Regions from separate parts of the Homo sapiens genome. Here region 1 is linked to region 2. Evidence: promoter capture Hi-C in 16 types of primary human blood cells and fetal thymus (Javierre and others, 2016). All regions are on one chromosome and are shown on one strand. The core of a region is centred on a gene start or on the middle of the fragment in contact, and the rest is flanking DNA. Distances in the headings are between cores, read along the strand shown. Region 1 holds the start of TRY-GTA6-1 (tRNA-Tyr (anticodon GTA) 6-1). Region 2 holds the start of BTN2A2 (butyrophilin subfamily 2 member A2).

Evidence for each region. Contacts are between HindIII fragments. The CHiCAGO score rates a contact against its expected background, and 5 or more counts as called.
Region 1: a fragment that was not itself captured here is called in contact with the fragment with the promoter of BTN2A2 in region 2 in 11 of 17 cell types (total CD4 T cells, total CD8 T cells, erythroblasts and 8 more); the score reaches 10.1 in total CD4 T cells.

Annotation. Positions count from the first base shown.
Region 1 is chr6:26,588,577-26,595,608 of GRCh38, forward strand. It overlaps TRY-GTA6-1 (tRNA-Tyr (anticodon GTA) 6-1), which reads left to right and starts at 6,298; the gene lies at 6,298-6,386. RefSeq lists a cis regulatory region at 4,236-4,340 and a silencer at 5,005-5,299. The HindIII fragment of the contact is 1,186 bases long and covers 2,488-3,673 here.
Region 2 is chr6:26,381,761-26,388,957 of GRCh38, forward strand. BTN2A2 (butyrophilin subfamily 2 member A2) reads left to right here and starts at 1,348. Exons shown (of 8, transcript NM_006995.5): 1 at 1,348-1,421; 2 at 2,032-2,155; 3 at 3,255-3,602; 4 at 6,253-6,534. The coding sequence starts at 2,062. RefSeq lists a silencer at 1,197-1,286. The HindIII fragment of the contact is 7,335 bases long and covers 1-5,839 here.

The sequences.
Region 1 (7,032 bases), core at 1,831-4,330, 210 kb after region 2:
TATAAATGAAATAATTTGGGACCAGGCACCGTGGCTCATGCCTGTAATCCCAGCACTTGGGGAGGCCGGGGCGGGTGGATCACTTGAGGTCAGGAGTTGGAGACCAGCCTGGGGAACAAGGCGAAAACCCGCCTCTACAAAAATTAGCGGGGCGTGGTGGCACGTGCCTGTAGCCTCAGCTACTCGGGAGGCTGAGGTTGGAGGATAACTTGAACCCGGGAGGCGGAGGTTGCTATGAGCCGAGATCCCACCACTGCACTCTTTAGAGCCTGGGTGACAGAGTTGAGACCCTGTCTAAATAATAATAATAATAAATTGAATGTATCCCTTTGTAATTCCCTGTTGTTGTTGTTGTTGTTGTTGTTGTTGTTGAGACAAGAGTTTTGCTCTGTCACCCAGGCTAGAGTGCAGTGGCGCGATCTTGGCTCACTGCAGTCTCTGCCTCCCGGGTTCAAGCGATCCTCCTGCCTCAGCCTCCCAAGTAGCTAGGGTTACAGGCTCCCGCTACCGCGTCCGGTTAATTTTTGTATTTTTAATAAAGACGGTGTTTCACCATGTTGGCCAGGCTGGTATCGAATTCCCGATCTCAGGTGATCCGCTCTCCTTAGCCTTCCGAAGTATTGGGATTACAGGCGTGAGCCACACCGCCCAGTCAATGATTGACTTTCTTTATATAACATAATGCTTTAAGATTTATCAATGTGGTGGCCTTTTTGGAGGCCGAGGCAGGCGGATCACCCGAGGTCAGGAGTTGGAGGCCGGCCTGCCCAACGTGGCGAAACCCCCTCTCTACTAAAAATACAAAAAATTAGCCGGGCGTGGTGGCGGGCACCTGTAATCCCAGCTACTCGGGAGGCTGAGGCAGGAGAATCGCTTGAACCCGGGAGGCAGAGGTTGCAGTGAGCCGAGATTGCGCCACTACACTCCAGCCTGGGTGATAAGAGCGAAATTCTGTCTTAAAAAAAAAAATTATCAATGTGGCATATATTAGTAGTTAATTCCTTTTATTGCTGAGCAGTATTCCATTATGTGGATTTACTACAACTTATCCATTCACCAGCTGATAGATACTTGGATGTTTCTAGTTTTTGGCAGTTATGCATAAAGCTACTATAAATATTCATGTAGTGTTATGGCAAATATATGTATAACTTCATTTTTAAAAACTGACAGTGTTTTTCAAGGTGGACCAGTTTGTATTCCCACCAGCAATATATAAGAATTTCAGTTATTTCACATCATCATCGGCGCTCGGCACTGTTAATTTCTCACCTTTTTTTTTTTTAACTTCAGCTATTCTCTTAGGTGTGTAAAGTATCTCATTGTGGCTTTAATTTGCATCTGCCTAATGAATAGTGATGTTACATATCTTATTATGCTTATTGGCCATCAGTACAGCTTCTTTTGTAAAATATCTGTCCAAATCATTTGTCCATTTAAAAAAGGGTATTGTCTGGTCTTATTATTGAGTTGCAAGAGTATGTTATTGTTCTGGTTATAAGTCCTGCATCAGGGAAGTGTTTTCCAAGTATCTTTTTCTAAACTGTGACTTTTTTTTTTTTTTTTTTTTTGGTAGAGAGGGGATTTCGCTGTGTTACCCAGGCTGATCTTGAACTCCTGGACTCAAGCAATCTGCCGGCCTCAGCCTTCCAAAGTGCTGGGATTACAGGCTTGAGCTACCATGCCTGGCCTGACTTGTCTTTTCTTAACAGTATCTTTTGAAGCGCAGATTTTTTGTTAAACTTTGATGAAATTCAACTTATTTTTTCCTTTATGGTTTATGCTTTTGTGTCCCATTTAAAATCTTTTTGCTTAACCTAAAGTCACAAAGAGTTCCTTCTACGTTTTCTTCTAGAGGTTTTGTTGTTCTAGTCCTTGCATTTAAGTCTTTGATTAATTTTGAATTAATGTTTGTACATTGTGTGATATAAGGGTCTAAGTTCACTTATTAGCACATGGATATTCAGGTTTTTTAGCATCATTTTGCAAAGATTATCGTTTTCCTGTAGAATTACCTTGGCACCTCTGTCAAAAATCAATTAATCATAATCATGTAAGTTTATCTCTAGACTCTATGTAGCTTTGTTGTAAGTCTTGAAATCAGGTAGTGTTCTTCCAACTTTGTTCTTCAAAATTAGTTTGGATATTTTGCATCTTTTGACTGTCTGTATACATTTTATACATTTTATATTTGGCTTGCCAATTTCTAAAAAAAATCATTGAGATTTTGATAGTCATGGCATTAAATGTATCAGTCAATTTGAAAGATGTGGAATTGATATCTGAAAATTGTTTAAATTTTCTGTTCTGGAAACAATGCATTGCTTTCATTGCATCTTGGTAAATTTATCTCTAAATGTTTCATATTTTTTATACTATTTCAAATGGTATTTTGTATTTCAATTTCTAACTATTTATTGTTAACAAATACAATCTATTAATAAATAGAATTACAATTTATTATATTTGTGTCCTGCAGTTTTGGTAAGCTTACTCATTAGTTGTAGTAGCTTTGTAGAAGTTTCCTCAGTATTTTCTCGTAGACAATAATGTTACATGCAAATAAAGATAGTCTCACTTTTTCCTTTTAATCTGTATTTTTTTCTTTCTCTTGTGTTATTGCACTGGCTAGAATCTCTAGGATAATGCTGAATAGAAGTTGTGAGAGTGGACATCCTTGCTCTGGACCTGATGTTAGGGCCAAAACATTTGAGTTTTTCATCACTAAATATATTAGCTGTTGAATTCTTAAATATGTCTTTTATACTTTGCAGAAATTCTAACAAATGTATCTGAATTTTGTCAATTGCTTTTTTCTACACCTACTGGAATAATCATATGGCTTTTCCTGTTTAGTCTGATAATAAAGTAATTACACTGATTACATTGATTTCAAAATTAAATTCTAAGCTACACTTTTCTTTTCTTCTTTAATTCTTTGAAAGTTACTCTTCCCATTTTTTAGATTAAGGTACAATTCACATACAGTAATGTCATCAGTTTTAATGTACATTCTCCTTAGTGTAGCAAATTTTGTCAAATATAGACAGTCGTGTTATCACCATTACAATCAAGATATGGAATAATAATATCACTCTACCCCCAAATTTCTGCATGTTTCTTCTTCTTTTCCTCCTCCTTCTTCTTCTTCTCCTTCTCCTTCTTCTTCTTCTTTTTTTTTTTTTTTTAATAGACAGGGTCATGCTCTGTTACCCAGGCTGGAGTGCAGTTCTTCCATCATAGCTTACTGCAGGCTGGAACTCCTGGGCTCAAGCCATTACAGGCATGACACCAGGCCTAGCCTCCCAGGAGGAAAGAAGAAAGAAGTTGTTTCTTCTTCTTCTTTCTTCCTTCTTTCTTTCTCCTCCTCTTCCTCCTCCTCCTCTCCTTCTCCTTCTTCTTCCTCTTCTTCTTTTTCTATTTTGTTCTTACTGAATCACTATGTTTCTTTTATACTTAATTTCTCCCCTATCTTCTACCCCAGTAGCAACTAAGGATATTTTCTGTCCCTATAGCTTTGCCCTTGCAAGAATTTCATAGGAATAATATAGTATGTAGCATTTTGTATCTGGCTTTGTAAATTCAGCATAATGCAGATGAGTTTCATCCCTGTTGTTACGTTTACCAATAGTTTGTTCCTTTTTATTCCATAGGAATATTATAGTGGTCTGTAAGCTTCAAGAGAAGTTAAAACCATCTAGGTAGGACTCAATTCGCAAGTTGAAAAGGTGCTAAAACAATAGAGAAGCTACAGGGTGAGATTGTAATCAAGTGATGATGATACATTTCCAAGAATTATTTCAGATAGTTAGATTTAGCCATAAACCCATTTTGAACTTGTGTCTGCAACAAGAGGGAATAAATAGAATGGCCGTTCTGACACCAGATTCTGTAAGAAGAGGAAGAAGGAAGTCTTCCCTCAAAGTGATACAGAAATCTAGTGCGGAAAGGTACTAATTACTTGTTCTTGTATTCCCAGGAGGCAAATATTGGGGATTATCAGGGGAAAGAGCATTTCAGGCAAATGAAATTCCAACTTTAACAGCCCTGAGGTGTGATTCTTATGCTAAGATTAGTTTATAGGTAAAGAAAATAATTGATGAGATTAGCTATTGGAGTTCTTCCTGATCAAAATCAACTCTATAGTACCGTGTCACTGAGAGTCAGGAGGCTCTGGGAGCTCCTGAGCATAGCAGTAACTGATGAGAAACATACTGAGCATTTTTTTCTGTATGTTTGCTGCCCCCTGTGAAAATTAGTGAAGCTTTTATTCGAGAAAGCATGTGAACTGAGATCCTGGGGTTTGGTGGTGAAATGGCAGGGTTGGTCAACTGCTTTCACATCTGGTGTCCAAGGCTCAGTTAGTACACTTCATATGGGCAGAGACCATCTCATAAGAATCTGCTCATTTCTCTTCTCTGGCTTCTCGTATTTTCCCCGACTAGGTTACATTATTGGAAAGGAATTTACCAGACCATATATTCTTAGTTTCTCATGGCAATGAATTGAATAACTGAATTAAATATTAGTTATGTTGCTGCAGATATTTCTCATGGGAAACGCTGGAGAGGATCTTTTGAAAAAAAAAACCGTATTTTTGTCAAGATTACAATTATGGAGAACTTTAACTGTAATAAGTGATGATCTTTTATAAATAAATTCACCAACACTCCTTTCCATAAATTTCACAATTTATAATTTCCATATACTTCTAATAATTTTATAAAAAAGAAAAGTCTCTCCAGATGCCTTCCCGTTCTTCCCATTGGTGTTCATTTCTGTTTTAGGCACGAGGAAGCTGAATACCATGATAGGTACTTATTAGCAAAGCATGACAGCATACCTTTGTGAAAACTGTCAGAATCAAAATGGAGTCACTATTGTTAAAACACACAAACACACAAAACAAACTAAAAACGCTAATTAATAGAGCTGGAAAAGGCCATGCTTGATAACAAAAACTATCACAAAAGACTGCAAAAACCACAATCTTGCACAGGCCATCACAATCTTACACAAAAAATACTTCTACAAGGACATCTGCCCCACAACTGCCTGTCCAACCTCGGACTAGCTTCCTCTTTGCTATCCATTTTTGTAGCAGACAATAATTACCTCAACACAGTTATATAATCCTTCTCATTTTTTCCCTTACAAATCTTTGTCGCTGAGCTCGGTGGCTCACGCCTGTAATCCCAGCACTTTATATTCTGGATCATGAGGTCAGGTGGGCGGATCATGAGGTCAGGAGTTCGAGACCAGCCTGGCCAATATGGTGAAACCCCGTCTCTACTAAAAATACAACAATTAGCCGGGCGTGGTGGCGGGCATCTGTAATTCCAGCTACTCCGGGAGGCTGAGGCAGGAGAATTGCTTGAACCCGGAAGGCGGAGGTTGCAGTGAGCCGAGATTGCGCCATTGCACTCCAGCCTGGGCGACAGAGCCAGACTCCAACTCAAAAACAAACAAACAAACACCTTTGTCTTCCTTTACCTCCCTGAATATACATAGTTTCCTATGGCACTCGTATTTTCATTGCAATGCTCTATTCCCAAATAAACATCATTTTCTTTCAGAGAGCTTCTCTTTGTTATTTAGGTTGACACCTGTAAATAGAATGCTATATTTCTTTTTTAAATTGTAGGGGGAGAGAGAAGTGTTGTGTTTCATTTACTTGTCCCATTACAATTGTGCAATATCATATGAGCCGCTCAATTCCTAAACATATGTACACACACAACGCACTTCTGTTTTGTGTCTCGAACACAAATTACAAATTATACAAATTGTGTAATTTTCCTTGCCCTTCAGAAAGGAGAATCTCAATGTTTCCGAAATGAACTGGGCAGTAACTTCGCTTCAAGGCGGTAGGTCCCCCCTCTTCAACCCAGTTGTCTAAAATAACCTTGTCTTTATTATTTACTTCCTATAGAGAGAGGAGGTGCTAAGCGGACAGGACAGCTGGACAACACGCGCAATAAGGGCAATGGTCCTATCTATTCTAAGGGAGGAGGACATGGAATATTGGTGTGGTTTTGTTTATTTTTTATTTTTTTGGACCTATGTGAAACATTTTTACAGTAAAACCCACAAATTTTAAATGTTCAAGAGAATTGTTCATATACTTGTATAGTCAGTATCCCTACTCAGATAAGAACATTTTAGAACATTTTGGAACATTTCTAATATCCTAGAAAATTTCCTCACGTTTCCCTATATTTTCAAAATGAACAAGAATACAGGATAGTCAAAAGCAATAGGTAAATCCTAAAGAATCCAAAACGAGGGTAATGACATCCTTCGATAGCTCAGCTGGTAGAGCGGAGGACTGTAGGGGTTTGAATGTGGTCATCCTTAGGTCGCTGGTTCGAATCCGGCTCGGAGGAGTTCCATTTTTAAAAGTGTCTCTTCTGGGCCTGAAATAAGGAAACTTGGAGAACGCATGTGCAGCTTGCTTATTCAGGAATTTGTAAGACGCTCAGAGAAGGAAAATAATCCACCCTGAAAATTGCTAACAAGGGTTGCTTCACAGACAGTTGAGTGGGACTCGATTTTCACCAAGTTGAGAAGGGATCATGAGGAATGTGGGGAACGGGAAGAACACGCTGCCCCAAGGCTTCATTTTTTTTTTTTTGTCGGTTTCACGGTCCTTTAGCACCCCCTGTTATATTGATACTTGGTGTGAATAAACATTTTATTAATGATAATTTCAAATATATACAAAGTAGAGAAAATAGCTAATAGCTACCATTAGCCACCACACTGGCACAACTTACCGACACTCTTGCATCCATCATGCCCCTCCCCTAGCTCCAGATCTTTTAAAGCCACCCCAACACGTGTTCTCATTTCATTAACTGTACTGTGTTTTGAAGATGTCAGTGTTTATAATTAAATAGCAGTAGACGGAGTTTATCGCTCTCATCGTACCCCGCTCCTCTTCAAAAAAGGAGCAGTGGACACCTACCTGACAGAAAGTTCTCTTCAATAAAGTTAATGAAACAGGCGTGTTTGAATTCGAGAAGTCTATTA
Region 2 (7,197 bases), core at 98-2,597:
TCCACCTCCCAGGTTCAAGCCATTCTCCTGCCTCAGCCTCCTGAGTAGCTGGGATTACAGGCATGTGCCACCACACCCAGCTAATTTTTTTTTTTTTTTTTTTTTTGGTAGAGACGGGGTTTCATCATGTTGGCCATGCTGGTCTTGAACTCCTGACTTCAAGTGATCTGCCTGCCTCCTCCTCCCAAAGTGTTGGGATTACAGGTGTGAGCCACTGCACCAGTTCCAGACTAAGTATTTAGACATTTGAGGGGATTATTGACAACTGGGCCTTGGGAAGATTATTCTGGAAGATATCTATACAATGACAAGATTGGATTCTGTGGGGGAGGGATTATGTTCATGGGGAGGAGGTTATGTGTGCTGGTGTGTGTGTGTGGTCCTTGGACTTAACCCCACCACCTACTGGCAGAAGGTCAAGGTCAACTGAAAGTCTTTGCTCACTTCCATCTTCTGCCTCCACCAGAATACCACCTCCCCGTGGGAAAGGGTTTTTAATCCTCACTCAGTATTCTCAGCACGTCTTATCCAATAGCTTTGGAGTGAACAACAAGACCTTCATAACAGCCACTGCAACTGCTGTCACCTTTCCTTTGCTACCCCTCCCACTCCAGCCATGCCTGCTTCCCCCAAGGCCTCCCGCGCACCAGGCCCAACCTTCAAAGCCAGCAACATGAACAAGAGTCCTCTGGCTTTGGAAAGACGGCGGCTTATGTTTTCCTCCTCATGTTTCCTCCCCAGCAAAATCACTCTACATAGAGAGCCCTCTCCTCGTCTACACCAGCAAAGCCACTGACACCTTGGGGATCTCAAGGCTTTGTAAAAGAACGGAAGGAAAGAAAGAAAGAGAGAGAGAGAGAAGGAAAGAAAGAAAGAAAGAAAGAAAGAAAGAAAGAAAGAAAGAAAGAAAGAAAGAAAGAAAGAAAGAGAAAGAAAGAAAGGAAGGAGAAGAGAAGGAAGAGAAAGAGAGAAAGGAAGAGAGAGGAAGGAAGGAAGGAAGAAAAAAGAAAGAAAGCGAGAAAGAAAGAAAGAATAAAGTGAGAGAGAGACATATGAAAGAAAGAAAGAAAGAAAAAGAGAATGAGAAAGGAAAGAAGGAAGCAAGGAAGGAAGGAAGAAAGGAAGGAAGAAAGGAAAATAAAGGAAAAAAGTCTTGCTTCCAAAGACAGAAAAAGGAAATAGAAATACCTAATAATCCCAAAAGGTTATTTGCTGCTTGAGATTTTTGGGGGGTTTTTGTGTGTGTATTCTACCTAGTAACAGCTGAGAAATAAGGCTCGAGACACCATTGGTTGGTTCAGCCTCACTCGGCCAATCCTGGGCTCTAAACTGCTCAGTGGAAATCTTGGGACTTTTTGGACACCCAGAGAACAGGTCCCAGATACCGAGTCCGCAACTCCAAACATCGCGATTAATAGGAGGTGAACACAGCTTTTCTCTTCTCTTTGGGATGCTTTGTTGTCTGGTGGTGACTGTGCCCATGGGTGAGTTGTATCGGAAAATCGTCATGTGAGGATCAGAGGGGAAAAGAAAACAGAGGTTAGTTCTAGAAGGTAGGAAAGGGAGAGGAGGCGCTACAGCTCCGGGGTGGGGGCGGTAGCTGGGGGCGGTAGGTGCGGGGAGCGGGATCTGCTCTGGAGAGGAGAGGGGGACCTGGGAGACAGGAAGCCTACTGGTGGGGAGGCGCAGCCTCGCCTGGCTTTACCTCGAGTGTCCCGACCTGGGTCTCGGGGAGGGGGAAGTGGAGGGACGAGGGTGTGAAAGAATCCAGGGACAACTGAAGAAACCGGACTGTGGCCCGAGAAGTGGGAAGAGGAAGGAGGAAAACGGCCCCCTTGATCTCTGCATTGATGGCTTACTTATGGAATGTTTACGGAATCCCTCTTTCGGAGATACCTGAGCCTTGAGATGCAAGCGACTCCCAGAAGTTGGGGCACCGATGAGACCTACTTGAGTGACAGGAGAGGTTGGGCCCGACCAGCACTGAGGTGCCAAGACTCCTAGGCTGATTCTCCTCCTCTGTAACCCTAGGCCTCTGGTCTCTGCCTGCCCTGGGTGCTCATGGAACCAGCTGCTGCTCTGCACTTCTCCCTGCCAGCCTCCCTCCTCCTCCTCCTGCTCCTCCTCCTTCTCAGCCTGTGTGCACTGGTCTCAGGTAGGGATGTGTGTCACTTGCTGCTGTCACCTCTCAGAAAGGAACATCAACCCTGTAGTCTGCAAAGGGAAAGAAGGAAGAACTGTGGGGTTGTTGACTTATCCTTTCATTCTGAACATGTTCACTGAATTTATACCAGCACTGTCCAAAAGAAACACAGTGAAGCACAAAGGTCAAGTGCATATACAAGTGCAAATCTTCAAAAAGATTTTTTTAACTTTTTATTTATTTGTTTATTTATTTAAGAGAGAGTATATTGCTCTGTTGCCAGGCCGGAATGAAGCAGATGGAGAATGAGATCATAACTCACTGTAACCTGAAACTCCTGGGCTCAAGGGATCCTCCCATCTCAGCCTCCCAAGTAGCTGAGAGTACAAGCAAGGGCCACCACACTCGACTAAGTTTTATTTTTTGTAGAGACAGGGTCTCACTATTTTGCCCAGGCTGGTCTCAAACTCCTAGCTGTTAAGGATCCTCCCACTTTGGCCTCCCAAATATCTGCAATTACAGGCGCAAGACCCTGTGCCTATTCTACTTTTTATTTTAAAAGGTAAAAACATACTTGAAATAAATTTTAATAATGTATTTTGTTTCATATAAATAATCACATATCAATATTTAAATGCTTAGTTAATAGAACTATTACCAATGAGATATTTGACATTTTGAAATTTTAAATCTTTATAATCTGTGTGTGTTTTACACTTAGAGTTCATTTTTATTGGAACTGTTAAATAGCTAGTGGATAGATACCCTAATGGACAGTTCAAGTTTACACTACACTCAGGCACAGTGCTAGATTGCAAAATGGAGGAAAATCTCAGGGGCACAGGGTGCCCAGGGCGGGCTCCCCAATGTTTCCTTCGTGAAGCAGGAGCAGCCTCAATAGTTACTGCTCCCAGGGGTTGGTGCTGCCGACCAGCCACAGCTACTGGTCCCCAGAAGGGTTCTCAGCCCAAGAACCCCTGTAGCCTTGGAATATCTGCTTCCTTTCATCCCTGGAGTTTTTTTTGTTTGTTTGTTTTTGTTTTTTGTTTTTTGTTTTGCCTTAGAGTTGTGATAACTGGCATCCTTGTCTGATTCTGCCCTTGTTGAACAGCCCAGTTTACTGTCGTGGGGCCAGCTAATCCCATCCTGGCCATGGTGGGAGAAAACACTACATTACGCTGCCATCTGTCACCCGAGAAAAATGCTGAGGACATGGAGGTGCGGTGGTTCCGGTCTCAGTTCTCCCCCGCAGTGTTTGTGTATAAGGGTGGGAGAGAGAGAACAGAGGAGCAGATGGAGGAGTACCGGGGAAGAATCACCTTTGTGAGCAAAGACATCAACAGGGGCAGCGTGGCCCTGGTCATACATAACGTCACAGCCCAGGAGAATGGGATCTACCGCTGTTACTTCCAAGAAGGCAGGTCCTACGATGAGGCCATCCTACGCCTCGTGGTGGCAGGTGCATCACTTCATTTTGCTTTATTACTTTTGCACAGTGTGACTTTTGGGGAAAGTTTCTCCCTTAACCTCAGGCCCATTGCAGACCAACGGATTTCTATCTGGCGTCCCCTTTCCACAGAGAAAGTGGCTTCCTCTTGCACAAAGGCCACATGAGTGGGTTTGCCCTGCTAAGCTATAGGTTTCACTTCTTTTTTTTTTTTTTTCAAGACAGAGTCTTGCTATGTTGCCCAGGCTGGAGTGCAGTGGTGCGATCTTGGCTCACTGCAACCTCTGCCTCCTGGGTTCAAGCTATTCTCCTGCCTCAGCCTCCTGAGTAGCTGAGATTACAGGCATACACCACCATGCCCGGCTAATTTTTGCATTTTTTTAGTAGAGACGGGGTTTCACCATGTTGGCAGGCTGGTCTCAAACTCCTGACCTTGTGATCCACCTGCCTCAGTCTCCCAAAGTGCTAGGATTACAGGCGTGCGCCACCACGCCCAGCCTGGGCTTCACTTCTTCAGAAGCACACGCATTCCTCAGCTGAGGCCATGAGCAGGGGAAAATAGTTAATCCCGGAAAAGAAAGTCTTATGCCTGCCTTGGCACTGAACTGTGCACGTCTGAGAGTGAAAGGAGACACTGTCAAAAATTGTCCCGGGGCAATCAGAATCAATAAGAACTGCCCAGAGAACTATGACATGAAATCTTATTTTTCGATAAATATTAATCTTGACATTTTCTTCTTTCCTGAAATACTGATTGCAGAGAGAGTGACTTTTATATAAATAGATGATTTTTATTAAAGCACAACTAAATACAGAAACAAAGTTATCTATAATTCCTGCTAACTCCACAGAGAAAGACTAAGAATTTAGCTGGGAAGAAATTGGCAAGGCTTCAGCATAGAAATGCACTTAAACTGGGATTTCTAATAGTTTGTTAAAAGTGACACTAAGTGATTACCTCAGTGTTGCAGTTAGTGTATTTTGCTTTAAAAGGTATATTTCAGGACTGAAAAAAGCCTTTAAGTTGCAGAATAATTCGTGGTGACATTTCAGTCCATCAGACCAGTGGAGGCAAGGACTAGGAAATTGGGTTCTTCCCAGGGGGCCCCAAATCATAACAGGTAGGAGACCCTATCTTTGCTACTCACAAAGGCAACCTTACATCTGATTAAAACAGAATATCGTGGATGGAGGGCTTCTTGACCCATTGTCATGACTGTGTTCACAGCAGCACTGCAATGTTGCCCAGTAATGAATGGTTGTATGTGGCAGGGACCCACTACTCTTTCTCTGTAAAACCAACCCTGTCCTGGCCTTCCCTAGTCTGAATTGGGTTGCTGTAGGACTTTTTGTTTGCTTGCTTATTGTACTCTGTTTGTTGGATTGGTTGGTGGCTGATTTTTCCCTTAAATCTATTGTGTCATGCTTACCCGTATTGAACCCATGGAATGTTTTGTAGGACTTTGTTTTCCAATTTGCTGAGGTATTTTAATTTCTTTTCTAATTCAGGATTTCTGTGTGAGCCTTCAAATGCACAACTAGCTTTTTTCTCCTGACAAAAATTAAACAGAGCAGAAAGCACTAGGCTTAAGTGATTGCTTTAATTTTCTTTCTTTAACATAATTTGTTGGGAGACTTTACAAAGGAATTATTCAGGAGAAGTTTGGATGATCACGCATGGCTGAAGGGTCTCCCAGGACCATGCTTTTGCAGCTCTCTCACTCTGGGTATTCTCTTTCATTGAAGGTTCTAGTAAAGATAGAATATATTTAGGATGAGCCTGAATTATTAGGATTTTTGGTGATGATCTCTGACATTGAGGAGGCAATATGGTTATCTTAAGGATCCCAGGGGCATCCAGATATTTCTAATACATTGATGTTCTTAAAGGACTGTAAGAAAATTCTCTATTGGATGGAACCTCTGGGAGGTAAACAACTGTGAATTAGAATAAGAATTGGCTTTGCCAGCTAGTTCTGTCTATTCTCCTAAAAACCATCACCTCCTATGGAGGTAGATAGCCATGGTGATGTGAGGCCCTGAACTAGACAGAAGTGTCAGTGACTTTGGTTCAAAAAGTTTCTTAAGATTTAGCCAAGGCTGAGCATAGTGGCCCATGCCTGTAATCCCAGCACTTTGGGAGGTCAAGACAGGTGAATTGCCTTAGCTCAGGAGTTTGAGACCAGCCTGGGCAACATGGCAAAACCCCATCTCTACAAAAAAAAAAAAAAAAGAAAGAAAGGAAAAAAAGCTTCTGCCAACCTGATAGGTTTCTGTCATTAGTGTATTATTTTAGAGCTTCAGGAAATTGAGGTCTGCAGAGAAGTCATCCCAGGAGCAGAAAGTGAAATTCTCAACCTGCCTGTTGAGAATTTGGACACACCCTCCTGGAAGTGAGAAAATTAGTCTTTGCCAGAATAAATTGCACAGCAAGCATTTATAGCAGACAGATAGATGCTTGGTGCTGTGATGGGGCCTTCAGGTGGAGCATAAAGAAAAGTGTGCAATGTGATCCTTTCTCTTTGAGATCTCACAATTTATTTTGCATATTGGTTTCCTGATGTTCTCCAAAACCAAGGGTCTTTCTAGCAACCATCCATCAAGGTGCAGTAGGGGCTAAGATACCACTGCCTTTTGGCTGAGCCCTGGTCTCCCTTTCCAGGCCTTGGGTCTAAGCCCCTCATTGAAATCAAGGCCCAAGAGGATGGGAGCATCTGGCTGGAGTGCATATCTGGAGGGTGGTACCCAGAGCCCCTCACAGTGTGGAGGGACCCCTACGGTGAGGTTGTGCCCGCCCTGAAGGAGGTTTCCATCGCTGATGCTGACGGCCTCTTCATGGTCACCACAGCTGTGATCATCAGAGACAAGTATGTGAGGAATGTGTCCTGCTCTGTCAACAACACCCTGCTCGGCCAGGAGAAGGAAACTGTCATTTTTATTCCAGGTTAGTTCTCTGCCCTCTGAGACCTATCAAGTGTATGCAGGATCCTCAGCACCCAGATGGAGCCCAGAGCGGGAATGGGGGCAGCAGTGTGGGTGGAATGGTCCTGGGCCCTGAGGAGCTGGAGGCTGCAGCTGAGTTGAGACGTCTCCCCTCCTCACAAAGGGAGATTCAAAGAGTCCCAAAACACAAGAGTAGGAGCCTCTTCTCTGAGGGTAAACCTGGTCTTTTTTTTCTTGATTAGGTCTTTATGCTGCAACAGTTGTAAAATATTAAGGACAACCATCAAACCTGGAGAGTAGTGTGGGTGGGTGACTGTCTATGCTTGGCATTCCTGTATGTTGCAGCCATCCCTTCCTGTCTATGGGACTTCCCAAAGGACAGAGCTGGGGAAATTCCCTATCAAGAGACATTCATAAATGTATTCAACAAATGTTCAACAAGCATTTCTTATGTTTAAGACTGTACAGGAAACCAAGGGTCAATAATTGAACAAAATATATCAAAATTTCTCTCCTCAAGGAGTTCATATTCTAGAGAGAGACAGCGGCCGGGCACGGTGGCTCACACCTGCAATCCCAGCACTTTGGGAGGCCAAGGTGGTTGGATCATGAGTTCGGGAGTTCAGGACCAGCCTGGCCAAGATGGTGAAACACCATCTCTACC